Linked DNA regions of Homo sapiens: all the other regions are linked to region 1. Evidence: promoter capture Hi-C in 16 types of primary human blood cells and fetal thymus (Javierre and others, 2016). All regions are on one chromosome and are shown on one strand. Each heading gives the region's core, a stretch centred on a gene start or on the middle of the fragment in contact. The rest is flanking DNA. Distances are from core to core; before and after follow the strand shown.

Evidence for each region. Contacts are between HindIII fragments. The CHiCAGO score rates a contact against its expected background, and 5 or more counts as called.
Region 2: a fragment that was not itself captured here is called in contact with the fragment with the promoter of COG2 in region 1 in 3 of 17 cell types (total CD8 T cells, naive CD4 T cells and total CD4 T cells); the score reaches 7.5 in total CD8 T cells.
Region 3: the fragment with the promoter of RHOU here is called in contact with the fragment with the promoter of COG2 in region 1 in 3 of 17 cell types (monocytes, neutrophils and fetal thymus); the score reaches 8.4 in monocytes.

What each region holds. Positions count from the first base shown.
Region 1 is chr1:230,641,007-230,644,198 of GRCh38, forward strand. It overlaps COG2 (component of oligomeric golgi complex 2), which reads left to right and starts at 1,475. Exons shown (of 18, transcript NM_007357.3): 1 at 1,475-1,672. The coding sequence starts at 1,601. RefSeq lists silencers at 1,269-1,408, 3,022-3,141 and an enhancer at 1,499-1,718. The HindIII fragment of the contact is 12,366 bases long and covers 1-2,000 here.
Region 2 is chr1:229,619,072-229,622,128 of GRCh38, forward strand. The region is part of intron 1 of TAF5L (TATA-box binding protein associated factor 5 like); the gene reads right to left. Among named protein-coding and RNA genes, the nearest start is that of TAF5L, 5.5 kb to the right of the region's middle. The HindIII fragment of the contact is 3,259 bases long and covers 155-3,057 here.
Region 3 is chr1:228,733,870-228,736,799 of GRCh38, forward strand. RHOU (ras homolog family member U) reads left to right here and starts at 1,610. Exons shown (of 3, transcript NM_021205.6): 1 at 1,610-2,135. The coding sequence starts at 1,874. The HindIII fragment of the contact is 4,915 bases long and covers 424-2,930 here.

The DNA.
Region 1 (3,192 bases), core at 225-2,724:
GTTGAAGCGAGGTGCTAAGTACATAGGGTGGGGTTCTTGTGCTCTCCACACTTCTGTGTACTTGAAAATTTTCATAACAAGAGAAAACAAAAAATTAAACAGAAAATGAGGTTTTCATTTCCTCCAGCAAAACAAACATAACAGGGACTTAGGATGTACTTTTCCCAATCGCTCCTCTGGCAGAATATTTTGATCCTCCAGCTAGCTTCCGGCTCTTATCCTGTTCATCTGTTCTGTAGATACTGGCAGGAAATAGGCTCTTCAACAGGGCCTGCTAGGTCCAGTGCTAGGGAGTAGAGCGTTTTGGATTCTACGCCTACATTTTTTTTTAAGTGACCAGTTTTCTAGTTGAGATACTTGAAATACAAAGTCTCATGGTGAGGTCTTACCCTCTGCTGTCCCATTCCTTTTTACAGGCCATCATGGCGTTAATCTTATCTCCAAGGAGAAAAATTGGGAAGAGAGGCCTAGATTCCTCAACAGAAGCGGGAAGGAAAGGTTTGCAGAATGAAGAGTGTGAAGTGAGGTTTGTGGTTTGAATCATCCGAATGTCAAGGAGAAAAGAAGAAAAATGAATCATCATCATTTGACCACGGTATTTACAGCTAGCGGAAGGGACAAGAGGAGAAAAAAGCAAGGGAGGAGATAAAGGAAGAACGTCTCAGAATAAAATTGGGGTGGGTGGGGGGAGGAGGAGGAAGACAGTCTAAGAAATTGGTTTGGTTGCACCAGTACTGGCCACAACACAAAAATTTGTCCATTCCTGGTTGAAATTAAAAATAAATGTGCATGCACATGTATTTGTCTGCTGTGTTTAATCAGATAGCGAGGCACTCCTTTAAGCACCTTGAAGACCCAAAGTTGCGCTCAGAGGCTGCCCACCTGGAACGGAGACCGAGGTTGAGCAGGGAGCTACTCAGAGGACCCAAAGCCGCCTAGCTGACCACCTTCTTCCCTATGAGTTCCCAGTAACGGAGCCCAGTGGAGGAGACGCTACACTTCTCTGTGGGGACAGAGGCTAAGGGCGGGGGTCTCCATAGAGGCGTTAGCGCCCACCAGCGGCAGTGACCGCGCACAGGGAGGTGAAGAATGCGACCACGGTGATACGTCCAACCTGGAAAACGGGCCTGAGAACCAAAGGGCCAACTTCTGGCCATGCATAACGAAGCAGAGCAGTCTCAGGGTAGAAGGCACTGGAAAAGCGTTGTAGGACAATTTTTCCCAGTAGAAACGGTGGGGGTGGGAGGGAGACCCGCTCACCCCTTTTGACCCACCCCTGCAGCTCAGCCACGCCTCCTAGGGAGGTGGGCAGCCTTGCAGGAGCCCGCGCGAGGCTGCAGTACCGCCCTCCGCCACATGAGGGCAGCACGGCCTACCCGTGCAGCAGCGGCGGCCCCCGCGCCCCTCTTGGCCAGAGCCAGGCGCAGGCCGGCTTGCGGTGCCGTCGTTCATTGGCCGCGGCGCGGGCGCTGCCATGTTGGCGGAAGCGGACCCCCCTGTGCCGTGGAAACTGGCGGTGGCCGCGGCCGCCGAGTCGGTCTGCGCAGCCTCCTGCGTTTTCTCGCTTGGATCTTGGCACTGAGAGGCGGTGGCCGGCGGGATGGAGAAAAGTAGGATGAACCTGCCCAAGGGGCCGGACACGCTCTGCTTCGACAAGGACGAGTTCATGAAGGTGCGCGCGGCGTCCGCTCCCCGGAGCCGGGCCATGAGGGTGCCTCTGCCCTGTGCCCTCTGTGGCGGTCTCTTCGGTCGGCTGCTCCTGCCTGCGCACGCTCAGTGTCAGGTCCTCCGCCGAGACCTCGCTGCACTTCGCAATGAGTCTTTTGGCGTCAGGTTTGGCGGGTGCAGCCTGGAGAAAGCACTTCTGTAAAATCGTGCGTGTTACATGGAAAGGCCTGAAAGTTCTGGGCAAGTGGTTTTGAGCTGCATGTCAAAGCCACTGTTACCCGTTCCTGTTACCATGCAGTGCAGTCAGATTGCCAGTCCCCTTGTCGGAAAGAAGCTTGTGGACCGGGGCCTTGGAGCTCATTAAGTGTGTGTTGAATAAATCTCCAAGCCCACGTACTTTCCTAGGGACTCGGGTCGGAAAGAAAAAGAACTTAATCTGAAGTTTTGCTTAACATTCAGCTAAAGCTTCCAGAATGGGATATTTAGAAGCTTAGAACATTCTTACCGACTATTGCAGTACGACAAAGCAAACCATTACTCTTTAAAGAAGTTGCTCTACTTTTTACGTGATGCATTTGAAGAAGTTGGTAGTTGTAGGTCATAAACTTAGAGAAAAGAAATATAAACTGAAAACACTTCACTGATGATAAAGTTCATCAGGCACAGCCTTGAAAATGGCCAGGCTTTGAGTGAGAGCTGGGAGGAGCTTTGCTCCTACTTGGTGTATCCCTCTGGGTCTGCACTTAAGCCATTCAAAAAATGTTTCTATTTAATTTCCTGAGGACTAGGATTTTTGACACCTTTTAGTAGCTGCTTTCAGTGTTAAAAAGCGAAAAGTTTTAGCTGGTTAGTAGACATCTACAATTTTGAGCAAGTGAGTTGAAATCTTACTCTGCCTTTCTTGGTGACATAATGTTTTCTAGATTAATTAGCCTATCTCTTTTTGATAATATTTGCATTCAGATTACATCTCCAAAGCTGTTTTTTTTTAAAGTAGATCTGTATCTTCTCCAGTGTGACCATATCATTTTTCGTATGTAGGACTTATCTATACCCAGGAATAATGTACCTTATTCTTGTAAGTGATATTCCTATTAGACCACTGTACTAAAAGGTGTAACTTCATTAGGATGTCTCAAAGAATGTACAGAATCAACTCATTGATCCAGAAACCCTTCGTTTTGCCTACTGGCTAAGAGCTACCCTGAAATGAGGGTAGAAAGAAACAGCTAAGGGTACATGCTGGGGAGAGGTGCCCTGGAAGAGGAAAGGCCATACACGGAGATCAGGGGCCTTGTTGACGTCAAGAATCTCAGAGTACAGAATAATCTCAGTTTGTCCATCTCTTGACTTCTTAAGGCTCAACACCAGCATCTTCTCTGACTCACTAGCCCCACCACCTTTCCCACTCTGAGTTGACAGAATGCCTTTGGTAAATGCAGCTTCAGGAAGTGAAATCACAGAAATACAAGTTCTAAAATAGAACTTAGAGTGCAAACTGGGGTGGTGGCTGGAATGCCAGCA
Region 2 (3,057 bases), core at 534-3,033, 1.0 Mb before region 1:
TTTTGCATTTTTTTGTAAAGTGTCTACTAGGTAACTCAAGTTATTAGTTCTCTTCACTCACAGCAACTAAATGGTTGTAACATCAAAAGATCAGTCTAAGTAGGACCTAAAGCCCTAGCTTTGCATTAATCATCATGATAAAGTGTATTCAATAAGCTTTGTGAAAATATAAATCACAACTGAAAAATAAATGAGCCATACTACTTTCAGTTTCAGTCATACCTCATATAATTTAAAAATTATGATAGCCTTTCATATTCAATCTTTGCTCAGACTGACATAAATACACTTGAACTAGAAGCTGTGTTTTTTCCCATGGTGTCCTAAGAAATAAAATGGCACATGGATAAGGCCGTAGCTGGGCTCAGGACGCAGTGAAGAATGTGGCGTTTTGGTGGGGATGGCAGCAGTGGTAGAAAGTAGGTGGAAATCACGAAATCCAGCAAACAGATGTCATGAGAAGTAGATTTTCTCCAACATCAGCTGGGACCTCCATGATGTTCCAGAAGTCTTGTTTCATCAACTACTTACCCTACAGCCTTCCACCTACGCTATTCTAAACCTTCACCAGTCTCCTCACCCAGCCAGCTGACCCTGCTTCTGACCTCAGTGGGCTACTGAGACTTGGGATTCCTTAACTTTTTGATCTAACCAGTCACTTTCCAGCACCACCCTTCACGATCTCTCAGCTGGATGTGATGCTGCTGAACTCACCTCCTACTTGAAACTCTCTTGGTCCCTCCCACTGCAAGCCTCTCTTGTGGCTCTGCCCTCCCATTACTGTCTGCCACTGCTTCTTCACATTCCCGGCTTCACCACACCACCATGCAAGACTTACAGTCAGACCACCTTCCTCAACTCAGTCAATTAACAGACATTTCCACCTGCAATACCTCTTCCTTCTCCCGGTTTTCTTAGCCGGCTTAATGGTGCCACTATCCACCATTAAAGCAAAAACAAAACAAAAGAAAACAAAACAACCAAAAAGCCAGTCATGATAAAATTCTGTTCTCTCTCTCCCTTACTTCAAAGAGGCCACCAACTCCTATTCTAAATGGGAATTCTCTCTCAACTTAAAAAAAAAAAATTGCGGCTAGTGCAACTCAACCATTTCTGCTACCCCATCTTGACTGTTTGCTATTTGACAGCACAAATTGCTTCTCGCTCTCTTTAGAGAAGTGGTCTGGCTATATTGCCCAGGCTGGTCTCCATCCTCTGGGCTCATGATCCTCCCAGCTCAGCCTCCCAGGTAGCTAGGATTACAGGTGTATGCCACTATGCCCGACTCTACAAATCACTTCTCAACTGGACTATTCCAATATTCTTCCACCTTTAGGCCCTCCTCATATGGCCCTTTGAAAAGCAGCCAAAGTACATGACAAATCTAATGATGTTACAACCAAGCCTAAATCACCCCAACCCTCATGCAGGTTGTCCCCTCTTGCCATCACTCTTCCTCAGTTCCCCTAAACAGATGGAGAGTTCCCTGAGGACAGGCCTTATCTTTGAAACTCATCATAAAAATAACGTGAGTGCTATCTAGCTTCTTGGAATTCTTGAGAGTTTATTTTAAGCTCGTGATCTTTTTGAATTTCTACTTTAATACTGTTTTACAGCACAGAAAAACTGCTTTTCTATACAAAATCTTATTAACATGGAAGAGTGTGGCACAATCTACAGAATGGCTCTTTACATTACTTACTATGCTTGACTACATAAAGAAAACTTTCACAAATGCTCTATTTGCAAACACCACTGCAGACAGAAATAGGATGTCCTGTTCTCAAAATAAGGGATAAGACGTTTTCCCATGCTTATCACTGTTCCTGAAACTGAATTCAAATGCAGTACATGAGGATTTGAAGACGCTTCATTAAAACATTTATGTGTGTGTGTGTGTGTGTGTGTGTGTCTCAAAGTGGATGGAATGATCTTCAATTTTTCATTCCAGAGCAGTACTGTCCAAGAGGACTTTTGGCAAACGACGGAGGTGTTGTAAGTCTGCACTGTTCACAACAGTAGTCACTGGCCACACAGGGCAATTGGGCAATGAAAATATGACTAGTGCAACTAAGGAACTGAATTGTTTTAACTAATTTTAATTTAAGTAGTCATAAGTGGCCAATGATTACTGTATTGGACAACAGAGTTCTACAGAATGACATTACCTGGTGAAACTAATGCATCAGCATCTTGGCTTAAAAAAGTTAATTCACAAAGTTTTGCATAACACTTCTGCTTACTAATGACAAAGTCTCCAAAAGTTAGTATTTTGTTTTAAAAACACAGCTACCTTTTATTATTGCCAAACATTGTGAAGTTATTAACATACCCATCCACCTTGATACACCTTACTGGGAGGATATCTTCTTTGACTACTAAACAATTATAAATGGAAGTATTTTATAGTGTTTTCTAAACACTGACAATATACAACACTCTTCAAATCTTCTGTAAATTAAAAAATAGGAAGGAAAAAGACAATTTGCTTCAGTGGAGAAACAGCAGCTAATTTCTTTCTGTAAAATGTCCAACTAAAAGGTAAGCCCAAACCTATGACTACCTTACCATACCAATAAGAAAATTAAAAAGAAAACATTTTAGTCAACTTTAATTTAAAAAAAGAGAAACTCTGAGGGTTACAGATGAAAATCAAATGTCTAACTATAATCTCTATTAATTTACACATATCTAAAATATATAAGGCAATATATTAATTCACTAAAGAAATTCACTCCAACTGTTCATGAATATCTTAAACACCAGTGTCTGTGATGAATTAAGCCACTATGAATCATCAAATTCCATTTCCAGAGCACTTTACCTTTCCCATCTACTAAATCAGTTACAATAAAGCACGTCTTAAATCCATATACTCCTGCTGGAAATCTCAACCCAAGCCATCAATGCCTGTTCGGGTGAGCAGAACTTCTTTTCATTCATCATCATCTATCTATCTATCTATCTATCTATCTATCTATCTATCTATCTATCTATACAGATAGATATATATAGATATACAGATATGTGTGTGTATATATATTATACATACATTAT
Region 3 (2,930 bases), core at 360-2,859, 1.9 Mb before region 1:
GGCAAGTCAGGTACCTGAGGCTCAAAACTTAACATTGGCACTTGCCTGACCCTGAGAGTAAGGGCCCTCTAAATTTGTTGTTTTTTGATATTGCCTCTGAATGCTCAATTTGTCATAAATTTTGCATCCTTGACATCCCCCTTATCTCACCTTCATCCTGATTCTGTATCCCATTACACCCAAACAACCTGTTTGGGTCTCCCCAACTTCACTTTCTTTGGCTGATCCCCAAAATCTTCATGGCCTCTTCAAAGTCACTCAATATGAGGGTAAGTTACAGTTTAAAAAGACAGTGAACATAACTGGTGGTGATTAAAATACTTTTTTTTTTTTCAAAATTTACAGAAACATATTACCACGTGTACACATTGCTAGGTCTTCCAATGTGAAAGTGTCCTTTGCAAGTCAGGGGTCCTGGATTCAAGCTTCTAACTTCTTGATAAATCCATCTCTGCATTCTGACCATGGCCATACGTTCAAGATTACGTTTATCATACTGACTTATTTTTGCCTCCAGGATTTTGGTTAGAAGCTCAGGCTCTGGGGCTAGACTATTTGGGTTTGGATCCTGGCATTGCCACTTACTAGCTTGTGGAATCCCAAAACGTTACTTAATATCTCTGTGCCTCAGGTGTTCTCATCTGTAAGTAATGTTAAGATTAAAAGAATTAGTTCTTGAAGAGTGCTTACAACAGTATCTGACACATTATGAAAGTTCAGTATTTGTTATTGTTATTTTTACTACCACTAGTATCAATGTGTATTAATAATATGTGGCCCTTCTCACACCACGCTGTACACCCCCAGGACTCTTGGTATTCTGACTTGGCTAAGAGGCGTCCTTTTTCTGAATAGACTGTTGACCACATGTAGAAGGAAGGCAGAGAGAGAAATGAATCAAAGGGAAACGGAATATTTTTTCAGACATATTAATGTCTCCGAATTACCTTTAAGTAAATGAAGGAATTGGGGGTATAAAAAAATTTCTGGAGCATACATGTATAAAGGTTCACGGCATGCCGAAAGACAAAGTCAAAGGAGCATTCACAATGGAGCTGGCATCCTTTTGCTTCAAAATGAGAAAAAATCACACGATCAGCTGCAGTTAGACTTAAGGAAAAAAGCTGTCTGTTAATTCAATCTCATTCGCAGGACAGGCCTCCAGGACACTTCATTTTTCCCCCTGGGTGGAGCCGTGGCCAGCCGGGGGCTCCACGGAGTGAATAGGAGGCGGCTCAGGCTTCCTGGCTCGCGTGGGCGCCAGAAAGCGGAACCTCCCGGGCCAGTCGCGCGGTGGTCACCCTCTTGGGAGCTGGGGAGGAGGCTGCGGAGGCTGGCCCGGCTCCTTCGGGCGTCGCTTCCCGGACCGGGTGCGCGGGGTCCCCCGGAACGTGTGTTCCAGGTCCTCCCGCGCCAGTGTTCGCAGTCCCCGCCTGGTCGCGGCGGCGCCTCGGGCGCGGGTGCAGGCGCGCGGCGCGCAGGCGGGGGGCGCTGTGGTCTTGGCGCGGGGACCGAGCCGCTCGGCCAGACCCGCCTCTTTTCCCTCCCCGCCAGCCCGCCCGCCTGCCCGCCCCCCACGCGTCGTGTCGCCGGGAAGCCGGGCGGAGACAGAGCGCTTGGGATCCACGGCGCTCGGACCGCTGTCCTCCAACAGCGCAGGGCAGAGCGGCTGGCGCCGCCGGAGCGCGGAGCCACGACCCTCCCTGGCCGCCTTTGTCTACTGGCCGTGCGGCCCGGAACCGCCACTCTCCAGGGCCGGGGACGCGCCCGCAGCTGTCGGTGACAGCTCCTCCCTACCGCAACCCTCCGGGGCGGAGGGGCGGTCGGGCCGGGCCCTGCTAGCCCGCGACCGCAAGCCCGCGCTCGCGGATCGATGCCCCCGCAGCAGGGGGACCCCGCGTTCCCCGACCGCTGCGAGGCGCCTCCGGTGCCGCCGCGTCGGGAGCGCGGTGGACGCGGGGGACGCGGGCCTGGGGAGCCGGGGGGCCGGGGGCGTGCGGGGGGTGCCGAGGGGCGCGGCGTCAAGTGCGTGCTGGTCGGCGACGGCGCGGTGGGCAAGACGAGCCTGGTGGTGAGCTACACCACCAACGGCTACCCCACCGAGTACATCCCTACTGCCTTCGACAACTTCTCCGGTGAGCTGGCCGGGGGGCCGGGGCCGGGGGCGCGTGGCCGCGGTCCACCCAGGGGAAGGAAGGTGGCGCGAGGGTCGCGAGGTTCCCAAGGGGGCTGCAGGGCCCCGGGCGCGGCTCCAGCTGGGAAGCCGGACAAATGAGGAGTGCAGGACGTTTCCTGAGTCTCAGGGACCGGGCAAGCGCGGAGCTAACACGAAAGGACCACGGCGGAGTGGGCTTGGAGAGAGGAGGGCGGAGCGGCAGTCAGAGCCTTGCCAAAAAAAAAAAAAAAAAAAATCTCACAATTTAAGCAACAGATAAGTAGGAGTGAAACAGGTTGAGTTCAGGGTGCCCGGTCAGTTTGTTGCATAGAGCAAAGTTTCCTGAGGGCGACGTCGCTGGCGCCGCTGCAGAGTTTCAATCAGAAGGTGACGCGCAGGTGCCTTTACCTGAGCGTCGCTCCTTTGCTTTTAGGCGGCTCAGCTCACAAGGGGCGTCTCCGCTTTAAAGAGCCGCGGAGACGCCGGGAAAACACTTGATTTAGTGAAAAAGCGCGAGCGGCCCTCGTGAAGGCTTAGGTTTGGATGAAACCTGAAGAGTAAACACCATTTCTTTCTTCTGAGCCCCACCACCTTCCCTGCCCACATGGGCTCGGATTCTGATTGTTGGTATCTTTTCAGGATCCCTTTAAGCTACTTAAAGCTCCTATGTACCGGGTGCGATGCCATTTCCCTTGGTAGATACAAAGAGAAAGGAATTCTCTATCTTGCTATTCAGGTCTTTTTGAAATTTAAGAAAAAGTTAAAATTCACAGAA